Regions from separate parts of the Homo sapiens genome. Here regions 1, 3 and 4 are each linked to region 2. The links are contacts of gene promoters, found by promoter capture Hi-C in human tissues and cell types (Jung and others, 2019). All regions are on one chromosome and are shown on one strand. Each heading gives the region's core, a stretch centred on a gene start or on the middle of the fragment in contact. The rest is flanking DNA. Distances are from core to core; before and after follow the strand shown.

Evidence for each region. Contacts are between HindIII fragments. The study calls those that stand out against the background at their distance.
Region 1: a contact is called between a fragment that was not itself captured here and the fragment with the promoter of FTCD in region 2, in 2 of the 25 tissues and cell types used here (mesenchymal stem cells and spleen).
Region 3: a contact is called between a fragment that was not itself captured here and the fragment with the promoter of FTCD in region 2, in 2 of the 25 tissues and cell types used here (H1 embryonic stem cells and mesenchymal stem cells).
Region 4: a contact is called between a fragment that was not itself captured here and the fragment with the promoter of FTCD in region 2, in 5 of the 25 tissues and cell types used here (IMR-90 fibroblasts, dorsolateral prefrontal cortex, lymphoblastoid cells and 2 more).

The regions. Positions count from the first base shown.
Region 1 is chr21:46,264,080-46,267,578 of GRCh38, forward strand. MCM3AP (minichromosome maintenance complex component 3 associated protein) reads right to left here. Exons shown (of 28, transcript NM_003906.5): 10 at 2,903-3,063; 11 at 1,846-2,087; 12 at 1,242-1,444; 13 at 38-138. Among named protein-coding and RNA genes, the nearest start is that of MCM3AP, 20 kb to the right of the region's middle. The HindIII fragment of the contact is 5,088 bases long and covers 1-3,499 here.
Region 2 is chr21:46,154,169-46,157,536 of GRCh38, forward strand. It overlaps FTCD (formimidoyltransferase cyclodeaminase), which reads right to left and starts at 1,411. Exons shown (of 14, transcript NM_206965.2): 1 at 1,302-1,411; 2 at 1-164. The coding sequence starts at 1,355. RefSeq lists enhancers at 1-480, 481-1,184. The HindIII fragment of the contact is 26,017 bases long and covers 1-3,368 here.
Region 3 is chr21:46,029,838-46,033,640 of GRCh38, forward strand. No RefSeq gene overlaps it. Among named protein-coding and RNA genes, the nearest start is that of COL6A1, 50 kb to the left of the region's middle. The HindIII fragment of the contact is 8,914 bases long and covers 1-3,803 here.
Region 4 is chr21:46,241,040-46,244,785 of GRCh38, forward strand. It overlaps MCM3AP (minichromosome maintenance complex component 3 associated protein), which reads right to left. Exons shown (of 28, transcript NM_003906.5): 24 at 2,426-2,683; 25 at 1,763-1,892. All of the region lies in intron 3 of MCM3AP-AS1 (MCM3AP antisense RNA 1), which reads left to right. Among named protein-coding and RNA genes, the nearest start is that of MCM3AP-AS1, 14 kb to the left of the region's middle. The HindIII fragment of the contact is 7,439 bases long and covers 1-3,746 here.

The sequences.
Region 1 (3,499 bases), core at 936-3,435, 110 kb after region 2:
AGCACGTAGCAGGAGGGGAGCACGAGATGCCACTCACCCCAGGGCGGCAGCTGCGTAGGCAGCACCCGCAGAGCCAACTTCCTCACAGTCCCTCTGCAGGGCCTCCTGGATGAGCTCGTCCACCACCTGCGCCAGGTCCTGTGGAGAGACCAGCATGGGGTGTAATGGAACGTCCCACCCAGGGCAGAAATGCTGGGTAACATGTTGTCACCGGACAGTCTGCAGGCGTCTCGTGACAGAAGCACAACCCCTGACACGGGGTCGGCTAGGCTGTTGCAGGAAAGGTGTCCCCTAGCGAATGGAAAGGTGCCATCTGGAGAGGAAGGCGCCCTGCGGATGGCCACACAGCGCCCTGGCCTAGCCATCTCCAGTCTACGTCAAGCAGCCTCTGTTTCTGTGACCACTCTATGCTCCCCCTAAGCACTCCCTGATCCCCAGATGGGCTGGTGCCCAGTGCCTGCCCCGAAGCAGCCAGAGTGGCACAATCCAGTCTCACAACCATGGAGTCGACAGGCTCTACTCAATATCAAGGCACCTGTCGGGACCATGCCCACCCTGAGGCCACAACCATCAAGGGGCACATCCACCCCCAGGCCAGGCTGGTCAAGGGGCTCACCCACCCCCAGGCCATGCCCATCAGGGTGCACAGCCAGAGACCACACACACCAGAGGGGACACGACCACCCCGAGGCCACGCCTATCAGGGGGCACAGCCACCCCAGCCATGCCCATCAGGGGGCACACCCGCCAGGGGACACGCCCATCCCAGGTCACACCCATCAGTGGGGACACCCAACCCCAGGACATGCCCTTCAGGGGACACACCCACACTCAGTCCATGCATATTGGGGTCCCATCAGGGGGACATGCCCACTCCAGGCCACACCCAAGGGGACACACCCACCCAGGCCACACCCACCAGGCGGACACGCCACCCCAGGTCACACCCATCAGGGGGCGCACAATGCTGCCAATGATCCCGTCAGGAATAGACGGGTGTTGAGTTCAGACACACGGGCTCAGGCCGGTGCTGTGACAGGAAGCTCCTGAGATGAAGACGGACTCCAGAATGAGCCTGAATAGGTGGGCCCTACCTGAGGCTGAGTGACTCTAGGCAGGACCCCTCTCTGGACTCTCCTGAGAGACCAGGCGCCACAGCCCCACCTCATGGGGTGATGACTAAGGACGTTTGCGCACAATGGGCTTCCCAGAGTCCAGACCTAGAAAAAAAGAGTCCCTACCTCGTCAGAGTACATGGGCACGGGCTCTGGAGGCGGTGGTTCAGGCTGCACAGACAGCTGGAAGAGGCTGGGCGCCACAGACGGGGTCAGTGCCAGGACAGGAGGCAGAGGCACTGGTGAGGGCGCAGGGGCTGGTAGAGACTGTGGGAGACTGGACAGGGGTGCATCCGGCTCTACACCACACTCCTCTCCTCTCCCTCCGCCTGGAAGGAAACATACAGGACAAAACATAGCTGCAGACACAGGGTGCCTGGCACCACGGGGACCGAGGTCTGTGCAGGGACAGCCCCAGGCCACCCACAGTGACCCTGAGGACTGGCCTGCCCTCCAGGAGACCAGCTACGTGGGACAACATACGCTTTGCATGAAAAACAAGCCCCAGGATGTCAGGGAGCCAGGAGGAGGGCTTCAAAGCCCTCAGTCCACTCCCAGTGAGAACCATCTGAGCATGAGGAAGAGCCACACCCCTGGGCCCCAAGACAAGACAGGTGCTCAGGCTCCTGGGAGGCGTCCTGGCGAGAAAATGCAGATGCCCAGGCTCCTGGGAGGCGTTCTGGTGGGAAAATGCAGCTAGTCCCCTCACTACGACTGCAGCTTCACTCACCCACTGTGTCGGAGCCGGGTCTCTGGGTGCTGACGGGCAGCTCCGCGGCCAGGCTCTCCCCGATGTACTTGTTCTGGGAGTTGAAGCTGCACACAGGGGTATGACGAGGGACGGGGGGCAATGGCCCTCCGTTCACAATTTCCCCGACTGACACCGTCAGCTTCCTAGTAATAAACACCGACTTCCTGGTCTTGGATAATCCCTCTGGTTCCAGGAATGCAGACCGGTTCAGCTCCACACAGCTACCCAGACCACAAAAGACCCCCGAGGGGTGTCACCAGGGGAGAAGACAGCTTCGCCCTCAGTGCCCTGCCGAGTACTGCAAGCCCCTTGGGTGTCACCACAGCCATGTGTAAATAACAGAAAGCACAGGCGCCAGGTCCCACTGCCGCCCACCCTGGAGCCTCTGTAGGTCCCTAGAACCACTAAGCCCAGCGTGTTAACAGACGCACGCTGACTCACTCCTGCCTCCTTGCTGGCTCACCCAAAACCGTCTAATTTTCTGAGGACAGAACTGGAAGGAGGAGACAGAACTAGAAGGAGACAGAACTGGAAGGAGGAGACAGGCAGGAGGCAGGTGAGGAGTTAGAGGAGACAGGGTGGGGAACTAGGCACCGGGTGTTGAGTGTAAGCTGCCAGTTTCTGAGAGAGCGTCTGTGAGTCTCACCACTCTGACTGGTAAGTACCGGAGAAGACTCCGGCTGGCCTGCGGGTGCCTCCATCCCAGCCGTCAGAGGTTGTCCGTCATTGGCTGGCAAAGGCAGTCAAGGGAAAGAATAAAGAAGGCCCTAACTTTTATCTTTAGGTTTGTCAGCAAGTCATGAAAAGGACTGATTTTGGAGTCACAAAGAACTTGGTCTGAGCCCTCAATGTGCTGACAGCCAGGATGTGACCTTGGGAACACCCCCAGCCATTCTGAGTCTCGTGTGTTCACCTGCATGGCAGAGGGAATGCACCTTCTTCAAGTCAGGCAAGCAGCCAGCCCTTCACAGCCCTTCATCAGAATTAACAAGAAAAAAGGAGACAGGGGCCCCACAGTTCCATTCTCAGCTCTTACCCGTCGGAAACGGTGAGGCCGTGGCAGGTGAGGAAGTCGGTGGCCTCTTCACAGTCTCTGAACAGCAGCATGCGCACCACACCATCCAGGGGAAAGATGGTAGATCGCTGTGTGCTCACCGTGTACGCAAAGTTGAGCGCCCGGAGAGCATCCTTGCGGATCTGAGAGGAGGAGCGAAATCACTGCAGTCTCAGACGAAGGCCCAGTCAGACACATGCAGTCAGCCCATGACCACAGCCATGGCCAGCGTGGGGCACATGGGCTCCTCCTGGGCTGAGTCCACCAGAAGGCGCTTTGGCAACACGGAACCCAAGCTTAGAGATCATAGGCGGTCTGCTCAGGGGCAGTGCTCAGGAATGCGTGCCAAGCAAACACTCTCATAGAGAAGGATGGCTTGTGAAGGTTTTATTCATAAGAGAAATCATGAAACAAACTGTCCATCAACAAGACCAGGTGAAGTCAGCTGTGCAGCATCCACATGACAAAAGGCCAGGAAGGTGCTGCAGAGGACCCCGGAGACCATGGAATGCCAGCAGGAAACCAATCCCGTGGAATGACATATAATAGTTGGAGACAACTGTTCACGGCATTCTAACA
Region 2 (3,368 bases), core at 161-2,660:
ATAAGTCGGGAAGCTACCCGGGCAGCGTTGAGGGCCCCCTCCACCACGCACTCCGGCGGCCCCACGAAGGTGTACACGGTGCGGTTGGTGGAAGGGCCTGCGTCCACATCCAGCAGCACGCAGCCCGGGGTCTGTGTGATGGCTCCAGAGATGGCGTCGATCACCTGGGACACAGGCCCGGCCCCCACACCTCAGTCTCCCCGTTTGAAAGAAGGAAAAGGAGCTTGGAGGTGGCTGCACCCCGAGACACAAATGGGGGCTGAGGAGGCGGGCCAAGCCTTTGGGGGCTCTCCGACAAGCTGAGCTCCCACCGAAAGTGCCCGCACACAGCGGCCGCCCGGGAACCCTCACAGCAGCCACAGTCACTCCAGCCCAAGCACAGTCCCCACAAGGGGCTGCAGGTGGTGCCTCCAGGAGAGACTCACGGGCTCTGCTCCGACAGACAGATGCCAGAGACGTGGCCGGGGATCCAAGAAGGTGACCACAGGCGCAGGTCACAGAGGGGCCGGGACCCCCACCCCCGAGCAGGGGAGGGACAGATCACCAGCATGGGGGAGGGGCCTGAAGGGCCTAGAACCTTCCGGGTGGCAGGACTGCTGGGAGCAGGGGCTCAGCCCCAAATCTTGCCCTGTCCCAGGGCCTTGGTGCTGGCTGGAATCCCGGCATGACGAGGCCTCCCTGCACCCCTGCGGGTGACCCCTGTGGCCTGGTGCTGCGCTCTGGGAGGCCTTCCAGGTGGCCCTTAGGGCCTGCGTTTGTTCCCGGAGGAGCCTGGACCTCAGGGCTGTGGAAGGCGAGAGGCCGGACCTGGGGGCCTGCTGCCCCCTCTGTGCCTACTTCGTTTTGGGTCCAGTGAGGATGGTGGCTGCAGGGTGGGGGCTCAGCAAGCTAACTCCAGTGGAGATGGAGAGGCGGCAGTGGGGACCATGCTGGGCCACCTCGTGTGGCCTCACACAGCCCTTTCAGTCAGTGGCAGGAGCCCCATTTTCAGGGGGGAGCACCAAGGCCCTTTGAGGCCCAGAGATCTGCCCAACCCCCCACCGAAAGCACCCGAAAGGCCCCTGAAGCCACAGCCAAGCCTCAGCCCCCACAAGCACCAGTCGTGTTCCACCCACCCCTGGGTCAGGCACTCCCCAGGGCCCTGAGCCACGGGATGTCCTTGGGGCCCACGGGCAGCGGCTCTGCCCATCCTGGGAAGACGACCCGGGACACCAAGCCCACCACCTCCTCCATGGCCTGGGCCTTAGCCACTCAAGCTGCCCCATCAGCCCTAGATGCTTGACCAGCTCCTCGGGCCTCACCTCCTGGTTCTTCCCCTCCGAAAAGTTGGGGACGCATTCCACCAGCTGGGACATGGCCAGCACCTTGATCCAGATGCTCCTCTCTGGGCAGATGGAAGGACAGGGCCAGTGCTCCGCAGCCGCCGCCAGGGCCTTTATACGCTCACCGGCAGCACCTCCCCACCGGCTTCTCATTAACCAGCAAGGCACAAGGAGCAGTGGGGCCAAGGTCCCTGTGCAGCCGCGGAGTGGGGTGCTGCAGAGCCACCCCGGGTGCTGTTGACCCAGAGGGGATGGCTCCACTCAGCCAGAGTGTGGGTTCCCGGAAAAGAAGCACATGCCAGGGTGAAGGGGCATGTGCCGAGGACCCCCAGGAGCATCAGGCCAGCCTGGCTGGAATCCTGTCGTGACGAGGCCTCCCTGTGCCACTGCGGGTGACCCTCGTGACCCTGTGCTGCCTTCTGGGAGGCCTTCCAGGCAGCCCGTGGGGCCTGCGTTTGTTCCTGGAGGAGCCTGGACCCCTGGGGCTGTGGAGGGCGAGAGGCCAGCATGAGGCCCTGGCTCGCAGCACCCAACTGAGGTCAGCTCAGCTCAGACAGGAGAGTGCAGGGGAGCACGCGTGTGAGAGTGAGTGAGGATACACGTGAGGGCAGGGCAGGGGAACACGTGAGAGTGCAGATACACGTGAGCACAAGGCAGGGGAGCACATGTGTGAGAGCGTGGATACATGTGAGCACAGGACAGGGGAACACGTGTGAGAGTGAGCGAGGATACATGTGAGTGTGGGGTAGGGGAGCACACGTGTGAGAGTGCAGGTACACGTGAGCATGGGGCAGGGGAAGCAAGCATGTGAGAGTGAGTGCAGATACATGTGAGCGCAGGGCAGGGGAACACGCGTGTGAGAGTGCAGATACACACGAGACGGGCATGTGCGATATGGGGGAAGGCAGCTGAGACCCCAGCTCTCCCCAGCTGCTGCTCCCCTGACTACAGGCTCCCCACGAAGTCAGCGGCACCAGGGCCGTGCTCAGAAGGGAGAACTCCTGTCTCCACGTTCAGCCGCTGCCCACTTGCAGTGCTTTTATCATTTTCTCTTTTTTTTTTTTTTGAGACAAAGTCTCACTCTGTCAGCCAGGCTGGAGTGCAGCGGCACAATCATGGCTTCCTGCAGCCTTGGTCCCCAGGCTCAAGAGGTCCTTTCACCTTAGCCTCCTGAGCATCTGGGCCACAGGCACACACCACTACACTGGCTAACTTTTCCATTTTTGGTAGACATGGTGATATGGTTTGGCTGTGTCCCCACCTAAATCTCATCTTGAATTGTAGAGCCCATAGTTCCCACGTCATGGGAGGGACCCGGTGGGAGGTCACTGAATCACGGGGGCGGCTTTTTCCGGTGCTGTTTTTGTGATAGTGAATGGTCTCACGAGATCCGATGGTTTTATAAAGGGCAGTTCCCCTGCACACACCCTCTTGTAAGACGTGACTTTGCTCCTCTTTCACCTTCCACCATGATTGTGGAACTGTTGAGTCCATTAAACTGCTTTTTCTTTAAAAATTACCCAGTCTTGCGTATGTCTTTATCAGACAAATACACATGAGGTCTCACCACGTTGCCCAGGCTGGTCTCAAACTCCTGGGCTCAAGCGATCCTCCTGCCTCGGCCTCCCAAAGTGCTGGAATTACAAGTGTGAGCCACTGAGCCCAGCCCCACTTGAAGTTCTTTTTTTTTTTTTTTTTTTTTTTTGAGACAGGGTCTCGCTCTGTCGCCCAGGCTGGAGTGCAGTGGTGCGATCTTGGCTCACTGCAAGCTCTGCCTCCCGGGTTCACGCCATTCTCCTGCCTCAGCCTCCAGAGTAGCTGGGACTACAGGCACCCGCTACCACACCCAGCTAATTTTTTGTATTTTTAGTAGAGATGGGGTTTCACCATGTTGGCCAGGATGGTCTCGATCTCTTGACCTCATGATCCACCCACCTCGGTCTCCCAAAGTGCTGGGATTACAGGCGTGAGCCACCCACTTGAAGTTCTTAATGGAACCCCAACCATGTGGGCCTTAGGGACCCCACCTCCGTGGCTACTCAGGGG
Region 3 (3,803 bases), core at 393-2,892, 120 kb before region 2:
AAAGAATGAACTGTTGTTTTAAACTGGACTTTAGAAAAACTATAGTGGGCTCAGAACAATGTCTCCAGGCAGCAGAGAGCTCTCAAAGCAAGAAAGGTCCTCAGGGCAAAAATAAAACCCAGGTCATTGTCAGCAAAATGTAGTCTCAGAGTAAAGATGAAGCCACACATCTGACACAAAATTATTGTTAAGATTTTTGGTAGCTGGAAGTTGGATTCTGCTGAAAAAAAAAAAACCTGAAATTTTGTTAATTTGGGAAGTAGACAGCGGGCAGAAATCTGATGGGCCTTGATAAGGCTACTGGTTAGAGTTTAAAGAGAAGTAATTAAAATGTTCTTGGAAGTGGAGATAAAGGGAGTTCTTGTTACATGGTGTGGAAGTTTGGCAACACTGTCACCTGAGGGAACATGGAAAATAGAAAATATTCCTAATAAACTGATGACCTAGCTAAGGCAATTTCTGGGCAGGGGGTGTTGAAGATGCTTCCTGGATTCTTTCAGCTGCCTGTAATAAAATTCAAGAGCAAAGAGGTGAACTGAGAAACTTTTCAATTTTCAAGTAAAATTTAGAGAAATTATAGAGGAACAGTCTGTCTTGCCAGAATATGATTCTCAAAGTAAAATCAAGCTTAAGGATAAAAATCAAATCCAGGTCACTGTTCAGATAACATGGTCTCAGAGTAATATAAAACCAAGGATAGGACTATTTTAAATAGGGTCTTAAGAGGTCCCTAGTTAAGACCTCTGCTGTGGTCTGAATGTGTTCCACAAAATTCATGTGTTGGCAAATTGGTCCCCAGTGCGGTGGTGCTGGGAGGTGGGGCCTGTTGGGAGGTGTTTAGGTCATGAGGGCTCTATCCTCATGAATGCATCTGTGTTGTAAAAAGGGCTTTGGGGAGTGGATTTCCCTTCCACTCTCCACCGTGTAAGGACACTGCACGAAGCCCTTCACCAGATTCTGGTGCCTTGATCATGGACTTCTCAGCCTCCAGAATTGTAGGAAATAAATTTCTGATCTTTATAAATTACAGTCTGTGGCATTTGTTATAGCAGCACAAAAGGACTAAAGACAGCCTCAGAAATATTTAAAGTAATGCCTCAAAGACCATTTCAAATAAGTGACTTTCTAAGGATCGTACAGATGTGCCTTTTATGTTAACCAATAGATATTCTAAGAATCTGAAGATCACCATCCCACAGTAGCCTCACAGAGAACCTAAGGTACAGAAGAATCTTTTTTAGGTGTGGCCTTTTTTTTTTTTTTTTCCCCGACAGAGTCTCACTCTGTGGCTGGGCTGGAGTGCAGTGGTGCGATCTCAGCTCACTGCAATCTCCGCCTCCCAGGTTCAAGCGATTCTCCTGCCTCAGCCTCCCACATAGCTGGGATTACAGGCACGCGCCACCACACCCAGCTAACTTTTGTATTTTTAGTAGACACGGGGTTTCACCAGGTTGGCCAGGATGGTCTCGATCTCCTGACCTCGTGAACCGCCCACCTCGGCCTCCCAAAGTGCTGGGATTACAGGCATGAGCCACCACATCCAGCAGGTATGGCTTTTATCTAATGCAATTTATATAAACTAAAACCCACAATATTTCTAAAGGAATCATATCAACTTTATCTAAAAGGAACAGAGACGATACCAACTTACAAGAAGTCTTTGGGCCCCTGCACTTCTACAAGAAGGAAGTAGATAAAACAACAACAAACCTCAGCTGCAAACACTGGTCATTTCTTATGAAAGATAAAAGATGACTCCGAGGGTCACAGAAGCACTCAGAGAACAGAGCTGTGGCACGTGTCAGTACCTCACTTCCGGCTGTGGGTGAGTAACAGTTTACTCTGCGGCTACACCACATCGCGTTCGTCCATTCACCAATCGATGGGCACCTATCAGCTGAGTGATGCTGCTGTGCCTTTGTGTGAGCGTGTGGTGGTTGTTTTCAGTTCTCTTGGCCTGGGCCTAGGAGAGGAAGAGCTGGGTGTCCTTTAGCGCAGCTGTCTTGGTGAACGCGAAGCAGTACCTCACTGTGGTGTTTCCTGACATTTCCCTGACGTCTAACAACGTCGAAGACGTTTCCACATGTGGATTAGCAGTTTGTAAGTCTTCTTTGGAGCAGTGTCTCGCCGAGTCCTTTGTTCACTTCTAAAGTGGGTTCTTGGTCTTCTTATTACAGGGTTGTAGCAATTCTTCATATATCCTGGATTATAGACTGTTATGACATATGTGATTTGCAAATGTTTTTCCTATTTTGTGAGTTATATTTTAATTTTCTCAAGTGCCTTCAGAAGGACAGAATGTTTGATTTTTACGAAGCCTGATTTATCTTTTTTTTTTTTTTTGTAGCTTGTGCTTTTGATGTCATTGCTAATGAACCATTACCTAATCCAAGGTCCTGATGATGGCTGCCTCTGTGTTTTCTATGAGGTTTAGGTCATTGATTCATCTAAGTTAATTTCTGCATCTGGTGTGAGGTGGAACATAAATCCATGCTTTTGCACATGACTATGCAGTTGACCCCCCACCGTTTGTCAAATAGACTTTCTCTCCCATTGAATGTGCATCACCCTTGCTGAAAATCAACGGACTACAAGTGTGAAGGTTTGTCTCTGGACCCTACTCTGTTCCGTTTTTCCGTGTGTCCGTCCTTAAGCCAGCACCATGCCACCCTGATTACTGTGGCTTTGAAACTGGGACGTGTGAGTGACCCAAATTGGTTCTTACTTTTCCAGATGGTTTTGACAATGCTGCGTTCCTTGAATTTCCAACAGTGGGATCATACTTCACAATGAGATTTGGAGGAGACACACATCCACCACATAGCTTAGGAGAAGGGGCTGCAAGCCACGGACACAGGCAGAAGCTGGGCTCGGAGCTGGAGCTGGAAAAGGCGAGGACAGGGGTTCTCCCTGGAGCCCCAGGAGGGGATGGAGCCTGTAGGCACTTTGGTTTTAGTCCAGTGAGACCCACGTGGACTTTCATTGCAATGTAAACTAATAGATTTGTGTTGTCTTAGCTTTTATATTTACTTCCTAACTTCTTTTGGATAACAAAGAGGTTATCCAAAAGATCCATAACCATCTGAAAAGTGCTTAAAACCATTAGTTATCAGGAAAATATACATTTAAAATTACAACGAGTTACCACTACACACTCACCAAAATGTTCAAAATTAAACCATCAGTACAAGCGTTGGAAGCATACAGAACCACCAAACACCGGGCTTGGGAGGGGGCAGCTGACACACCCAGTCCCGGGCCTCGGAGAGGGCGGCTGACACCCCCAGTCCCGGGCCTCGGAGGGGGCGGCTGACACCCCCAGTCCCGGGCCTCGGAGGGGGCGGCTGACACCCCCAGTCCCGGGCCTCGGAGGGGGCGGCTGACACCCCCAGTCCCGGGCCTCGGAGGGGGCGGCTGACACCCCCAGTCCCTTTGGCAAACCGCTTCGCAGTATCCACTGACGCTAAGTACCCCTCTGACGATGACGCAGTCCCATGTCTAGGTATTTATGCAACAGAAACCTGTGCTTGGGTCACATGAGGACCCGTCACGAGTGTTCAGAGCAGCCTGAACCTGACAGCAGCCACCAGAGCTGGACCGACCGGCGGTGCTGCAGCCGCGGACCACTCCTCCACAATAAAAGCACTGTGAGGCTCACGTGGTGTCGATGAACATGGAGAATCCAGACACAAAACAGTGCCTGCGGTGCCGTCCGTCGACATCAGCTCTGAGACGGGCAAGGCCTAGTCCAGGAGGCAGCACGGGGTGCGGGGGGGGACCCACAGAGAGGCAGCACGGGGTCC
Region 4 (3,746 bases), core at 921-3,420, 88 kb after region 2:
GTTTATGGTCAAGAGAAAATATTTCTACAGCATCATGTAAAGCATGTAGATACATTTGCACATGTGCATTAACATGTAAGAACATGTGCCTCAGACACATGTGCCCTCCTGGAACAGCTCATGCTGGCCCCATGCCTGCTTCCAAGCTTCCATCAAGTCAGGGAGTGGAGCAAAGAGGGAAGGCAGCCCCTGCACTGTAGGGACCCTTATGCACAGAGGCATTGAGACTGCCTGTTCCTCTTGGAAGCTTCTGCTCTCAAGAGGCAGCTAGGTTTTTGGAGCTTCTCTGCTTCATGTCTTGCTTCCCACCCTAGGGTTCCAGATTCTGTTCTTCCCTAGTATTGGCAAGGTTTTTTATAGATAGCTCTTGGATACATTTGGAAGTAATGTTTACAAATGGTGAGAGAGAAGGCATCTGACATTTTTTTCTAAACACATGCCAATGTTTGTCTTTTCCCCACTAATTTCAATAATTTGGCCTAACACTTTTGTCACATATTCTGACTCTTTATTCTGATCCATTTATCTACTCTGGCATCCCCACATGGTTTTAAGTACTGGAGCTTTACTGTATGTCTTGGTATCAGGCCAAGCAAACCATGTTAGTCTTATTTAAAACTTTCTCAGCAATTGATGCATATTTGTTTATCCTGATGAATTTTAGAACTTACCAGTACTGACATCTTCACAGCATTGTATCCTGTCAACAACCTAGTCTGAACCTCAATGGTTCAGGTTTCCTTTGCACATACAGGCCCTGAGAACTCATATGTTAATGAGAAAGACATTCCGGGAAACCAGGAGGTGAGGAGACCAAGGATTAGGCTCCACTCCTATTATGAAGATGAACAGTTTTTAGAGTATCATGGAGTTGGAGAAGGTACTTCAAGGATCTCTATGGGGAACAAGAAGGAACAGCAAAGTTCCACCATCCTGTGCCCTTTCTGTTCAGGTTTATTGTTGTGAATGAGAATTTTTTTTTTTTTAACATGTTGTGGATCTATCTATCTGATCACCTTATTGAACTGAGAATGGTTCTATGGACTTGACTTTTCTTGGACTGACAACTGTACTGTCTGGAAATGACAGTTTCTCCTTCCTTTCAGTATTTGTGCCTGTCTATCCCACATCCCTGTACTGGTCAGGATTTCCAGGACAATAGTGAATAATAGTCGGGACAACAGGCTGGTTCTGATTCCACTGTTCCTAACATTCTACCAAGAAGCATGTTTTTTTTCTATTTTGGTAGTTTTATGTTAGGTAGCCTTATCAAGTTAGGACTTTTTTTTTTTTTAACCCAAGCTAAAGAAAGTACCCAAAATAAAGAAATTTTATCAGGAACAGGTATAAATTTTAAGAAACGTATTTCAACGCCTGCTAAAATTACCACTTATTTTTCTATTATGGCAACAAATTACATTAATAGATTTTCACTGTTATTGTTTATCCTGGGAGAAAGCATACTTGTGAACTTTTTTAGGTACTGTGCTTTGGAACCAAATTTGGAAGTGAGATGAAATGTCAGCTGTACTCTCCTGGTTAGGTATGATTTCAGGGTCAGGTATGCCTGATAAATGAAGTGAGATGCTTTAACTTTGTTCTAGAATAGTTTCTACTGCATGGGAATGATCTGTTCCTTGAGGATTTGTCACAGTCTGCCCACAGTGGACTGGATTTGGCATGTAGGATGTTAATTTCTATTTACTTTGCAAGAAAAATACAGTTTAGCAAGCAACAGAAACATACTGAACATGAACCTCACCGTCCCTCTCTCAGCTGTAGCTCCTTCTGCGTCTGCAACCTGGCTTGTTCCCACGACAAAGGAACATCATATTTTTTCAAATCGTTTTTAAAAAAATACACACATATCTGACCATCTTCACTCAGCGCCTCTGAGAAAACAATACAAAAACAGATAAAGAGGCCAGCCTGGCCAACCCTGTCTCAAAAAAAAAAAAAACACACACAAAAAAACAAAAACAGGTACAAATAATATTTAAACAGCGACAGGTGGCATGTGCTTAAATTCACTGATTTAAGTGCAAGACCTTTGATTAAAGTCACACAATTATGTGACTTCCACACTTGGGTTAAATAGGCTCCCAGGGTCCATGCATCACTCAAAGTCCAGACAAGCTTACATCGAGACTGGCAGGGCCAGTAATGACTACTCAAAAGCCACAAAATCCTCTCTAAGAGCCATCCTAGGGGGCCTGTTTCAGGGAGGTGAGTTCAGGCTCTACCAGAAACTTCCTAGCCTGTCTCAATGTTTTTAAGTCACTCACTTGAAGAGGGAAGTCCTAAGGAAAGGAAGGATAGAGACCCAAAAGAAAAGCAGCAACATCAACTAAACATCTTCCTTTGCAGAAACTGGACCAGGAAAGTCTCGTGAGGAGCTGATCCCATTGCATCAAGCTCTAATTACCTGATGTAACAGGAAGCCGGGGGGGCGTCCAGTCTCTCAGCTTGTGGTTGATACACAAGGCGATAAGATCATCCCATGGGATCTCCATGACCGAGGGGCCTGCCCCATGGACTGGGGAGGGACTCTTGCTCTTCCACCTACAGTAGGTTCTGTGGAGCAGGTTCTCCACCTGGGACTGGAGGACAGGCTGTGTCTGGCGTGAGCTGGGGATCTGGGAGGCGTACTGGACAACCATGGAGCACACGGGGAGCCAGGGGGCTGGGGAGAAAGTGCCTCATTAGTTACAGGTTTGGCCAAAATACAGGTGAAAATGTACATGAAAACATTTTCTCAGGAGAAGGCAACTGTGAAGTTGAGAAGTCTGCTTTCTAAACACAGCAGAACCACAGTTGTTGAGGGGGAAGAGCAGCTTGCTCCCAGGGTCTAGGTGAGGGATGCAGACAGTCCCCCTTAACAGTGTTGCTAGCCAAGTTCTACCCAGAAGTTCTGACTGTACAGGCCTGTGGTTGTGCCTAGGAAATCTGTATTTTAACAAGCACCCAGATGAGTCTGGTATAAGCAGTCTTAGCTTATTTTGGGGAACCCCAACCTAACCAGAGCACCGAGGGCTTGTGCTGAGTGGTTTGCTTCCCTTTGGGTTCCTTCAATAATGAGCATGAGTTAGACCTACTACAGACCACACACCACAATTTAGAAGGGCGCCTGAGGCCCAAAGGGGAGTGTCTGTGCTAATGCCACAACTTCTGCCAGATAAGCAGCTCATTCCCTTCTGAGTGCATAGGAAGGAGCAGCCCCATGCCATACTGGGCTTGAGCCAGCCAGATGGCCTGTCGGATCTGTGTCAAAACAGCCCAAAGACCTCAGCCAGGAACAGGGGCACAGCCAGAGCCATAGAAGAAGGCCTCTTTGACAAAGAAAGAATGTTAAATCAGCACTGAGTGCCATGGCTGCGGCTTGGGGACAGGGCTACATGGTCCCCATGCTCTTTGCCCCTTGTCTGTTCTGAAAACAGGGACCCTGTGGGCAGGCAGGACAGGATCAGGGTTGGTGTTCCTCCCAGTACCACTTGTCACTTTTCTCCTGAAGCTGAGTGAACTCCCATGGACTGCCTTGCTGGTCAGGAAAGGCTAACAGCCCCCACTCCACAAAACCCAGCTTGTTCTGGCTCATGAACCCAAAGGACCAAAGGAAGGTGCAGGCGAGCACAGCATGGAGACACACGGAGGTGGACGTGCAGCCCTCACACTGGTGCCCAACACCTGCCAGACGGTTACTACAGTGAGAAGGAAGCCTGAGACTTGGCTGCAGCCACCCACCAGAC